Linked DNA regions of Homo sapiens: region 1 is linked to region 2. The links are contacts of gene promoters, found by promoter capture Hi-C in human tissues and cell types (Jung and others, 2019). All regions are on one chromosome and are shown on one strand. Each heading gives the region's core, a stretch centred on a gene start or on the middle of the fragment in contact. The rest is flanking DNA. Distances are from core to core; before and after follow the strand shown. Region 1 overlaps BPI (bactericidal permeability increasing protein). Region 2 holds the start of GHRH (growth hormone releasing hormone).

Region 1 (6,514 bases), core at 2,464-4,963, 1.1 Mb before region 2:
TCTGGAGAGGATTCCCTGGGGAAAGGCAGCCGGTGCCCCACAGCCCATCAGGAACAGGTGTGGCTGACAGCCCCCGGCACCCCTGGTGCCTTCATTTATAGACAACGTCTGCACCGAACAGCAGGAAGTTCTAGGGAGAGATGAGAATGTTGTCACCAGTTGAAGATGCACCCCTTGTTTGTGAGTGTGGAGCTACTGGAGTTTTAAGAAGGACATTTTGGGAGCCTGCCTCTTAGGAAGGAGAAAGGCAGGGCCAGTGGGGGTCACTCAGTGTTTCGCTGCCCGGATCTACACATCCACAGCTGCCAACATCTGCGAATCTGTCAGCAGCTTCCCTGGAAGCTGCCTCCTTCTTAGACACGGAGACCCCCCGGGCTGTTTTAGAGGCCTTCATTTGTCGTCCCTGCCTCATGGCAGCTCAAGGGAGTGCTTGTTCCAATCAAGGCTGCAAAACCACTTCTCTCTGCTTCTTTGTGTCCTTCACTCAGGATTTTTAGAAATGAAGAAATTAAATTGTGCCATGGGTCATTTTTTTTAAAACACGAACTTGGTAAAATGTGAGGAATATGCGGTATGTGTTTCCTCTGCACTCTTGGTTATTTTTCTACAGTCTCTCAGCCCCATTAATTAGCTCCCTGGTCTAAAGAATTGAGGATTGATGGCCTGGACATTGGGGGAAAGGGAGAGGGAGGGATCTGGGTGATGCGAGGCTCCCCAGGAGGGCCACAAGTTATCAGGAAAGCCTTTGACCAAGGTGAGAAATGCAAGCTGGGTGACGGTTTCGCTGCGGAGGTGACAGCTTTGTGGGGACATGCTGGGTTTAAGAGGCCTCAGGGTGGAGACATTGAGGGAGCCTGCGAATGCACAAGCTGAGAGTTTGGAAAAAATAAAAAGACTGGAAGCATGTCTGGGACATTGGGTGGCACGCAGGTGGCAGCTAAGCCTGAAGAGGTTGACAAGAGTGACGAAGGCTTGCCAATGGCGGGGGAAGAGAAGAGGCCTGGGGAGGGGTCCTGGAGATCTCCAGCTTGCAGAGAAGGGGCAGGAGAACAAGCAGAGGAGGTGGCAGGTAGACAACCAAGAGCTAGGGGAGTGCTGGAAACTAAGAGAAGAAAGCATGCCCAGGAAGCGCATCAGTGTCAAATGCAGACGGAAGTCAGCCTGGGCGAAAGCCACGAAGGAGACTTCTGTGCTGTGTCTAAATCTGCCAGACGTCGACCACATGTTATACCCCACAGTGCCTAGTATGATGCTGGGTGCAAAAGGTGTGCAACATATATTCGTTAAATATTTAAATGCACCTTAAAAAAGAGGCTCTTTGGCCCACAAATGCATTTCATTTTTGCCGAGTGTAGCGTGGGAACGATGCAGTGATGGTTCAAAGCCGGGAGCCTGGCTTTGAATCTGGACTTCATTTAACACTGTGTGGCTTTTCTGAACCTTGGTCTTTCTTTGTTTTTTAACAGCACCCACATCCCAGAGTTGTTGTAAGGGTAGAAGGCGCTTCACACAGGGCTTGGCATGCAGGAAGCATTGCAGCCATAGGCTGCTGTTGGTCACTATCGTTAGGGGAGATTTGTGGAAAAGACTCCGGGACTCACCTGGTGAGGCTGAAGCACTACGTTGTAGAGCTGGACTCTGGCCGGCGTCGGGAGAGGGAAGCCTTTCTGTAGTTTCTCTGTGACAGAGACCGATGGTGAGGACCAGGAGAAAAGAAAGAGAAGGGCAGGGGAGGAGGGAGGGCCAGAGAGCCTGGGTAGACAGCCTCCCTGAACCAGCATGCCTGGCCCTAGGTAGGGACTGGCATGGGCATACATGCCTGAAAGGAAGGCTGCCCCAGAGTCCGTACCTCCCACCTGTTGTCCATCAACCCCAAGTCCACTTCTAGCACCTGCGTGGACTCCATCCCCATGATGGCCCTCCTGAGGGTGCAGCACTGCTGGTATACACTAAACCAAAAATCTGCTGCTTGCAATGGTGTGACTAGAGCGTGGTGTGTAATAGGGGTATTTATGCATGTGAGCATGAAACCCCTCAACATTTAGGATAAAGCCAGAGGTGGACAGTGGCCAGGGCAAGCCCCCCACATACTGCCACATTCTGACACGGAACTTTGGAGAACTCTAAATTAGAACGTGGCCTCCCAGGTCATTACAAAGCTACATTTGTCAAGGTAGGAGGACAGATCCCAGGACTGATGTATCATATTTCATATGATAATTTGTTGGATTAATTGGTAAGTTCTAAATATCCTAGTCACAGGTTATATGGGCCTCTATTAGTACTTTTGCCCCTCACTCTCAAAGGTCAGGGGCCGGCCTGCCTGAAGCTCTTACCAGCGTGGTGATCTAAGCTCTGGGAGGGGTTATCAGGGAACCCCCTCATCCTGCTTCCAAAGTTGGAAAGAGACCATGGGCTTTGTTTTCACTGCTAGGATCAAACCCATGCCCCATCTCTTGCCTGCTCTGTGACCTAAGTCACTAAACCATTCTGTTCTTCCGCTTCCTGCCATAAAAGTTGGAGATGTTAATAATCCTTCATCTCATGGGGGTTTTGTAAGGACAAACTCACGCAATAATGAATCAACCCATGTGTAGTAAGTCAACTCATGTGAGTTCCTTTTTGTTGCATTCATTTCTGGGTCAGATGCCATTTGAAGTTCACTTGACATCACCACTGCCCAGCCCTCATACCTGGGGCCAGGTAACAGGTGGCTGTGGGTAATCAACCCCACCCTCTTCCCCCATGACTGAAAATGAATGGTTTCTTCAAAGTTCCTTACCGTTAACCCTGGGCAGCACAAGAATGGGTACAATGTAGTTCATGATATCCTGCAGCAATTCAACCTGGAAATCAGAGGGAGGATGGGAGGATGGCCCTGCATCGCCAGAACCTTGCGGGTCCAGCAGTCCTCATCACCCCACCTCTGTCACCCTCCTTTCCCCTAGCGCTGCTCAGCAACCGCGCAGTTGGGAAAACTGCTGAGAGGTGGACGCAAGTGATATGTGAATACTTGGCAGCCCAATCAAGGTCATGGAAGTGGTTTCTTTTGCTCCAATGGTTCCAGATGTAAAGCATGTTCTCAATTGTAAGGTGCAAGGCCTTACAACTCACGACAATCATGAGGAAGCTCATCAGAGAGTATTTAAATGGGAAAAGCTTAGCTTAAAAAATGAGTCCTCTCAGACACTGCAGTAAGAGGGCAAATCAAATCAACCTCTTTGACGGCTATTTGGCACAATGTTCTTCCAAAGCCTGTGTGTGCCTGGTTGGGCTTGGTGGTTCATGACTGTAACAGCAGTGCTTTGGGAGGCTGAGGCGAGAAGATCACTTGAGACCAGGAGGAGTTCAAGACCAGCCTGGGCAACACAGCAAGACCCGTGTGCCTTTTGGGCTAGCAAACATGCCTCTGAGGAATTTATCCTAAGGAAATAATGTAGGGTGTAGGAAAAAATGTGGATGCAAGAATGTTGACCAAAGCAACAAATTTATCCAAAACAATAAATTAAAAGCAATCTCCATGTCCAACAATAGGGGAATCACTTGGTGGAAAATGGTAATACTTTAATACAAGGAAATATTATGCAACTGTTAAGAATGATATTGTAGAAATGTAAGTAACAACACAGACATAACCATGATATGTTTTTGAGTGAGGAGAACCAGGCTATAGAAATCACATCATTCCATTTTTTAATTAAATAGGCATAGCAAAAGGTCAGGAAGGATATACTCCAAATTATTAACTAAGTGATGAAAATATGCATGGTTTTTATTTTCTTTCTTTTGCAAATCTGTAGGTTCTGATTGCCCTATAGTGCATATATTTTTCTTTGGCAATAATAAAAAAAATTAAAAATAGTGTAAAACCCTCAAGATGCTTGCCTGTAGTTGTGACATTTACAATTTGTAAATATATACATTTTTGTTTCTGGAACAACTGAGTCTCTTTTCCTGGCCTGTTATTCCCTGGCCTCACCAAATGCAGTGCCCTCCTTCCTATGAATCCTGGGAACTTAAAATTTCTAGTTTCTACAGAAGTAGAAATTAGTTATGGACTTAGTCAAGCCACCAAGAAAGCCTTGGAACCAGTAAGTCCATGAAAATACAGTGAGGTTGCATTTGGTCCTTTCATTTGGAATCTCATTTGGTAGAAATGGCTGGCTGGATTTTTATCAGATTTGAAGGGGACACTGGGACGGTATGACTTTGGGGTTGGAGGGCTTACAAGGCACTCACTTGGTGGGGAACTTGGGGGCATCTCGGGAATCTAAGGAAATGTTCTCCAGAGCAGCAGAAACTGGGATTCAACCAGAGCCCACCAGGAGATTCAGGTCAATGTAGCAAGACGCTGGACAGGATCAGCAGACTGCAGCTTCTGACGTTAGACACAGGGCAGGTGCTCTGTGTGGCTGGTGTTGAACAGCATGGGCGACTACTTACTACTAACAGGGGCAACTCGTCATCAATGCCCCTCGTGAGGGCAGTAGCGGCAAATCTACTTAATGATGAGCAGTGATTCCTGGGCAGGCGAACCACCTACTTGAGCTGGGTTTCTCCCTGCTCTTCCCTCTCCTACCAGCCCTTTCTCCATGTCAGTACGTAGCTCTGCCATTCATCCAACTGCTCCACCCAAAACCCTAGAAGTCACCTGGACAATCCTTTCCCTCACCACACAGCCATGAGGGAGGCTTCTGTGCTGTGTCTAAATCTGCCAGACATTGACCACATGTTATACCCCACTGTGCCTAGTATGGTGCTGGGTGCAAAAGAAGGTGTGCAAAATATTCATTAAATATTTAAATGCACTTTATAAAAGAGGCTCATATCTCTCACTAAGGTCTCTCTAAATCTACTTCCAAAATATATCTCCAATCCACCATCTTTCTCTTCTGCCTGGCTGAGTCCCAACCTCCAGCATCTCACGTGGACAAACACACCAGCCTCCTCAATGACCCCTTGTCTGTAATCTATCCCCCCACCCCAGCCAGGGGAAGCTTTTACAAAGGTATAAATAGACTCACAGCACTCCCTGCAGGGAAACAGCGCACCGGCTTCTCACTGCCTGTGCAACACAACAATCTCCCCTCCTCTAGCTCAGCCCGGAAGACCCTGGATGAGCTAGCCTGTGCTTGCCCCTCTGGCCACATCTCTTCCGATGCCCCCTACTTGCTCTGCTCCAGACACACAGGCTCCCTTCATTCCCCAAACGCACCAAGCTTGTCTCTACCACAGGGCTTTTGCCCCTGCTGTTTCCTCTGCTGGCTCCTTCTCCTCCTTCAGTCCAAACGTCACCTCCTCGGAGAGGCCCTCCCTGATCACATCTTCTGACTCTTCATTCTCCCTCATCACTTTCCGCCCATCCCCGCTTTGGTTTTTATAGCTTTGATTGTGACTGAAACGATCTTCTCTCTCTTTTTTTTTTTTTTTTTGAGACAAGATTTCACTCTGTCACACAGGCTGGAGTGCAGTGTAGCATGATCTTAGCTTGTGTAACCTGGAACTCCCGGGCTGAAGCCATCCTCCTGCCTCAGACTCCCAGGTATCTGGGACTACATGTGCATGCCACCACACCCACCTAATTTTTATTTTTTATAAGAGATGAGGTCTTGCTATGTTGCCCAGGCTGGTCTTGAAGTCCTAACCTCAAGCAGTCCTCCTGCTTCAGCCTCCCAAAGTGCTGGGATTATGGACATGAGCCACCATGCCTGGCCTTTCATTTCTTATTGTGCTGTCTTCCCACTGCCATGTAAGGCTCTGAGAAGGCATCACTTCCCTGTCTGATGCATCAGCCTACCCCATACTTGGAAGAGTACTTGGCACATAATAGGTGCTCAATAAAGTAATTCATTTGTTCATCCAACAAACATTTGTTGAGCAGATTTTCTCTACCAGATTGTGCATGTTTAATCCCATTTAAACCATACTACACTCACTCAGGTGGGGAAGGTCTGGAGTTCAGAAAAGGGAAGTGACTTGCCCAAGGCCTCACAGTTAGTAAGTATGGAGCAGGGATTCTGGCTCAGGTCCCTCTGCCCACGAAGCTCCTTGAACTATTAATTCACAACCAAATTAAATGCAAATGAGCCAGTAGCCTCTTAAATAATGCCTTGAGCCTATGACATGTCCCCCTCCCCGCCGCCAGGTCAGAAGGAGGAAGAAGCCACCAAGGGCCTCAGACTCACCGGGAAGGGGCCAATATTTGAGTGCTTCAGTTCCAGGAGCAGCCTGTGAGAGGGGGAGGAGGGGACTGAGACCACCAATTGCCTGACTAGCATGAGAACCCAGTCTCTAGAGAGGAGAGACCCACTCTGGTGGATACTGTCTGGTTTTCCCACCCAGTATCCACTCCCCTTCCACGGGTCACAGCCCCCCGATGTTGCCTTTGGAGAATTCACACATTCCCTGCATTGTTAGTGCCGTTGACCCCACACTGAGCTCTGGGCCATGCTGACCAAAGGGCATAGTCCACTTCTTCTGCTACAGTCATTGCTGCAAGGATGTACCTCTGACC
Region 2 (6,178 bases), core at 1,959-4,458:
GTCCACTCTGGGTGCCCAGCTCTGCATGGTCCCCACTTTGCATTTCCAGGAGTTACCCCACACTTCCTGACTGTGCGAGAGCCCATAGCCCTGGGGCTCCCAACTGCTTCGTCTGCTCCCTGCTGCTGTGACCTGCACTTTTTTTTTTTAAATAATATTTGAGTTCTGGCCAGGACAACATAGTGAGATCTCATCTCTACTAAAAATAAACAAAATTAGCTGGGCATGGTGGCGTGCAACTGCAGTCCCAGCTACTCAGGAGGCTGAGGTTGGGGACTGCTTGAGCCTAGGAGGTCAAGGCTGCAGTGAGCTGAGATCTCACCACTACACTCTAGCCTGAGCGAGACCCTGTCTCCAAAAAATTAAGTAAATAAAATAATAATAATAATAATTAATTTAAAGCTATCAACCCATTTATTTTTATTTTTATTTTTATTTATTTATTTATTTTATTTATTTTTTTGAGACGGAGTCTCACTCTGTCACCCAGGCTGGAGTGCAGTGGCACCATCTTGGTTCACTGCAAGCTCCGCCTCCTGGGTCCTGAGCCATTCTTCTGCCTCAGCCTCCCGAGTAGCTGGGACCACAGGCACCCACCACCACGCCCGGCTAATTTTTTGTATTTTTAATAGAGACGGGATTTCACCATGTTAGCCAGAATGATCTCGATCTCCTGACCTCGTGAGCCGCCCGCCTCAGCCTCCCAAGGTGCTGGGATTACAGACGTGAACCACCACGCCCTGTTTTTATTTATTTTTTTTTTTGAGACAGAGTCTCACTCTGTTGTTCAAGCTGAAGTGCAGCGGCGCCATCTCGGCTCACACCAACCTCTGCCTCTGGGGCTTAAGCTATTCTTGTGCCTCAGCCTCCCCAGTAGCTGGGATTACAGGCACATGCCACTACACCCAGCTAATTTTTTTGTATTTTAGTAGAGACGGGGTTTCACCATGTTGCCCAGAGTGGTCACGAACTCCTGAGCTCAGGCAGTCCGCCTGCCTCGGCCTCCCAAAGTGCTGGGGTTACAGGCATGAGCCACCGCACCTGGCCACTATCAGCCCATTCTTAATCCTTGGGGATCTGGCCTGACCTGACCACTTCGTATCCTGGCCAGCAAGGTGACATACCACTCAAGCCTTGCTTCTATGAGAAACATCTCATATTTGCTAGATGCCAAGAACATGGCTCAGTGCAGGCTAAGAAGGAGAACCACAAAATAGTGTTGCTAAGGGGACTCTTGGAAATTACTGGCTTGTAATTGTGACCCATCGAGGTACCTCAGGGATAGGCAAGGGGGTCTCCACTTCCCCCTCTTCAACCAGAGTAGCCCCATATTAAAAACCTGTCTCTGTAGGTTTCCAAAGAAAGAGTTTTGCTACTTTTTAAAAAATGTTTGGGCTGGGTGTGGTGGCTCACACCTGTCATCCCAGTGCTTTGGGAGGCAGAAGCACGTGGATCACCTGAGGTCAGAAGTTTGAGACCAACCTGGCCAACATGGTGAAATCCCATCTCTACTAAAATACAAAACTTAGCCAGGCGTGGTGGTACGCACCTGTAATCCCAGCTACTCTGGAGGCTAAGGCAGGAGAATCATTTGAACCCGGGAGGTGGAGGTTGCAATGAGTCGAGATTATGCCACTGCACTCCAACCTGGGTGGCAAAGATAGGATCCCTCTCAAAAAAATAGTTTGAAAGTTGCTGTTCTATGTCAACTCTCAAGTTTCCAGGTAGAAACTGAGGCCCGGAGGGTAGAAGTTTTTTTTCTTTTTTTGAGACAGAGTCTCGCTCTGTCGCCCAGGCTGGAGTGCAGTGGCACGATCTCGGCTCACTGCAACCTCCACCTCCCGGGTTCAAGCAATTCTCCTGCCTCAGCCTCCTGAGTAGCTGGGATTACAGGTGCCCACTACCACACCCAGCTAATTTTTGTATTTTTAGTAGAGACGGGGTTTCACCATGTTGGTCAGGCTGGTCTCGAACCCCTGACCTCATGATCCACCCGCCTCAGCCTCCCAAAGTGCTGGGATTACAGGTGTGAGCCACTGCACCCAGCCAGGTAGAAGTAACTTCCTAAGGGTCACAGAGGTCATGATTGACAGGCTTGGGAGAGGCAGCAGGTCCCTAGACTCGAGGCTTGGAGCTCTTTCCACACCTCCACGACGGCCGCCTGGGAAACCAGAGCTTCTGCCTCCTGTGCTTTTATGTCATTCCTGAGGATTTCTTAGCTATAGGCTAGAGAAATCTGGAAACACAACAACTCTCCCAAGGTTTTCCATCTCTTCCCTCTCATTTCACACTTCTCTGAGGCAACTGCCAATGTCTGGCTGCCTTGACAGGTGACGACGGATGCCCCCAGGCTAGCTGTTGAAATCAGCCTGTGACCAAGCAGGTGTAAATCAAATAGTGCAGAATTCTGATAATTGGACGACAAGGGAGATAGGGAACAAATTCCCCACTAAGGAGAGAATAACGCTTATTCATAATGTTGTCTACCCAAAAGTGAAATAAAATTACACAGGGACAAAGCTAAATTATATGAACTTTTGAAAAGGCACATTTATCTTGGAGAATCAATAAACTCTTGGTGTTTCACTGTTATGAGTTCTCCAATTATTTTTAACACATATTTTTTCTTTTTTTAAAAAATATATATTTTGAGATAGAGTCGTGCTCTGTCACCCAGGCTGGAGTGCCATAGCGTGGTCTTGGCTCACTGCAACCTCCGCCTCCCAGGCTCAGGTGACACTCTTGCCTCAGCCACCTGAGTAGCTGGGACTATACCCATGTGCCAACATGCCCAGCTAATTTTTAATTTTTTTCTAGAGACAGGGTCTCATTATGTTGCCCAGGTTGGTCTCAAACTTCTGAGCTCAGGCAATCCACCCGCCTCAGCCTCCCAAAGTGCTAGGATGGCAGGTGTGAGCCACCGCGCCCAGCCGAGTTCTCCAATCACTATTATAGCAGTATATATTCTCTATATCCTCTTGGAATAATGTTACACCTTTGTACTATGTCCACTGTGCCAAAGATAAAAGGAGACTTTACCAGGAGTCTAAGTCTGCAAGGGGCCAAACCTCTTTCACCAACAGGGTTTGTCAGTGTGATATGATGCTAAAAACAGTCCTTTGGTTGACTTGTGGGTAATTGATTCTCTGACGCTGACAACGCTTAGGAAAATGAAGAGATAAATGATGGGAACGCCAGGCGGCTGCCAGAGCAAACACCCAGCCCAGGGCCCCTGGATTTGAGCAGTGCCTCGGAGCAGAGGGATATCTGCCGCATCAGGTGAGAGGGGTGGCCCTGGGGGGGCTAGGCTGGGTGGGGGTAAGAAAAGTTAACCTTCTCACCAACTTAGAAACACTGAGTCCAAGAGGCCCACCGCCATCCTCTTTGCCCATGGACTGGTGAGTACATTTGAGCCCCTCTCTGGATAAAATCACCCCTCAATAGGGGCTCTGGAATAGGCTTTTGATGGTGCTGTTTGGGGCTTGTCTTAACTTGGGCGCGTGGCGGACTGGCTCCAGGTGTCTGTCGCAGGTGGTGAGGTCTCAGTGCTCCTTCGAGGATGCGTGGGCAGGCTTCGGGGGCAAACGTGAGTTGGCTCGATTTTCCTGTCAGCGATGGGATTCTGCCATGGATCAGAGATGAGCCAAGTGGCTGTGCAAATCAATACTGCTCATTGATCACTCAGAACTGATTCAATGTAATTGCCGGGAAATTGATAACATTTTGCTTTCTTGCTCAATTGCAGCCACACTCTTTACTCCAGGTTTTAGACACAATTATCTGCCTTTGGAGTCCTCCGCTACCCCACGCCTGTCTCCTGATCCTTGCTTTAATGGTCCTGAAGTATTTGTGTCTTTCACCATAGACTGCCTCAAACCCCTTCTGGAAGGAGGTGGAGTGTCACTCTTTTGAATGACAGTTCAAGATGCTTCCTCATTAAAAACTTAGATTTCTTTTAACTTGGAATGCTGTCACTGAAACAGTTTATAAACCAGATCAGGAAGTCTATGCTTTGGGGTGCTCAAATTTCAAAGGGGGATATTCAAGGAAGGTTAAAGATGTTCTTTCCCTGGGTTTTCAAAAATGGCCTTGCGAATTTGGGTGCTTGAGACCTGACCTCTGTCAGCTGCAGGTGAATCTGCAGAATTCTCCTGGCATTCCTGGCATGAAAGCTGGCAAAAGGTGCCAACGGATGTAGATCAAGTGCCCGTTTATCCTGAATCCAGGCAATCTCAAGTACATCTAATCCCAGAATCAGTAAGCACTGCAGGAAGCTAACCGATGATCATAATGATAGATTATAAACTCTGGAGTGCCTTCAGTCATCAGGGTTGCCAGCAATGCTGTTGGGCTCGGCTACACTTCATTCAGTGAATTTTGACTCCTTAAGTTGTCATGTGGAATGTGTCTGTTGACAGCTATTTTATTTTATTCTTTGAGATGGGGTCTTGCTCTGACATTTAGGCTACTGTGCAGTGGCACTATCATGGATCACTGCAGCCTTAACCTCCCGGGCTCAAGCAATCCTCCCACATCAGCCTCCAGAGTAGCTGGGACTACAGGCATGCGCCACCATGCCTAGATAAGTTTTTTTTTGTTTTGTTTTGTGTGTTTTTTTTTTTGTAGAGATGGGGTCTCGCCATGTTGCTCAGGCTGGAGCTATTTTATCCTTAGTGACATAACCTCTATTCTTCTTATCTTACCCTACACTGGATAATTCTTGTTTCCCATTTTCATCCAGTGGGATCTGCAAACCCATGGATTCGGTTCTCATAGCTCAGAGGTTGCTGTGGGGTCTTGACCTATGCCTGGGGCACAGGATTTGTGGCAAATGTTGAGCCTCTTGGTTAACTTGTGCAGTTGCTGAGCCTTATCTTGAATGAGCGGGGTATTGTGTTTACTATGACTTGCCCTCCCCACCAAAGTCTGCCCTCCTATGAGGTTGTTTCAACTCCCTGAAACTACTGGGTGTGCATAGGGAGGGGCCAATCAAGCAGGTGTTCCTGTTTGTCCCTGTTCTTTCTTCCCCAGAGGCCCAACAACAAAGAGCAAGAAGCTTTCCTTTTTTTCAGACCCTTTCCCACGTGCAGGTGATGGAGGCTGAGGATCCCTGTGAATGGGGAATACTGTGAATAGAGCATTGTACCTGGGAGGCTGCTGCATGGAGCGGAAGGAAGTCTGCCGGCCTGGGAATGAGGAGGCCCACTCTGAAGTGCCCACTCCAAAACTAATTTGATGGAGGATCATGGAAAATGTCCTTGTCCTCTCTAGGCTCTTTTCCTTGGCTGTAAGAGGAGCATGGGGATGCCTGCTCCAGAGGGAGAGTGCAAGGATGGGTTGTGGAGCCTGATAGGGCACAGGGGCTGGGAATCACTTGTGCCAGCCCTTGGGAGAAGGGGCAGGCAGAGGGAGAGCTTAAGCCAAGAGAAGGGGTTTGAGCTTTATTCTGGAAGGAGTGGGGAGCCAAGGGCTTCTGAGCAGGGGAGGGAGGTGATTGGGGACCTAGATCTGCCTGAATCTTTAAAAGATCAGCAGCAAAGAAGGCAAGAAAGCCAGGCTGCAGCTGGGAGACAGAAAAGGCAGTGGTTTCTGTCAAGGGGCCCTGCTTGCATCCAGAGATCTCTCGGCTTAGGAAATTCCACTTCTGGAGAGGCAGCCTGGACCAGGTGGGGAGAAGGGGGACCAGACGTGGTATGGTGCGATGAGGAGGACGGAAGCCTGCCGAGCCTTGGTCTGAGGAACAAAAGCTTAAGTCAGACATGCGGAACATATCTAAAGGACCAGTCGTGTGGCTGTAGGTGCAGAGGCTCCAGCCCAGCAGGCGGATGTTACACAGCCAGCCCTCGGGGTAGATCCCGTGTTCTCATCTTTTCTCTAGCCCCAGTCCTTACCGGAACAGTAGAGGCTTAACAAACATTTGCAGGAGAAGGAGATTTGGGCTTGACATGGTGAGACAAACTTCCTAACAATAAGAACTGCCTGGGCCTGGCATTGTGGCTCATGCCTATAAGCTCAACTCTTTGGGAGGCTGAGGCGGGGGGATCACTTAAGCCCGGGGGTTTGAAACCAGCCTCGGCAATATAGTGAGACTTTATCTTTACAAAAAATTTCAAAATTAGCTGGGCATGATGGCACATGCCTGCTGTCCCAGCTACTCAGGAGGCTGAGGCAGGAGGAT

Evidence for each region. The method cuts DNA at HindIII sites, captures the fragments that hold promoters and counts their contacts. A contact is called where the count stands out against the background at its distance.
Region 1: a fragment that was not itself captured here is called in contact with the fragment with the promoter of GHRH in region 2 in 3 of the 25 tissues and cell types used here (H1 embryonic stem cells, IMR-90 fibroblasts and mesenchymal stem cells).

The regions. Positions count from the first base shown.
Region 1 is chr20:38,330,762-38,337,275 of GRCh38, reverse strand. It overlaps BPI (bactericidal permeability increasing protein), which reads right to left. Exons shown (of 15, transcript NM_001725.3): 12 at 6,186-6,228; 13 at 2,783-2,846; 14 at 1,602-1,678; 15 at 1-130. The coding sequence ends at 92. Among named protein-coding and RNA genes, the nearest start is that of LBP, 12 kb to the left of the region's middle. RefSeq lists an enhancer at 1,742-2,941. The HindIII fragment of the contact is 5,423 bases long and covers 1,002-6,424 here.
Region 2 is chr20:37,258,844-37,265,021 of GRCh38, reverse strand. It overlaps GHRH (growth hormone releasing hormone), which reads left to right and starts at 3,208. Exons shown (of 5, transcript NM_021081.6): 1 at 3,208-3,279. The HindIII fragment of the contact is 8,848 bases long and covers 1-5,402 here.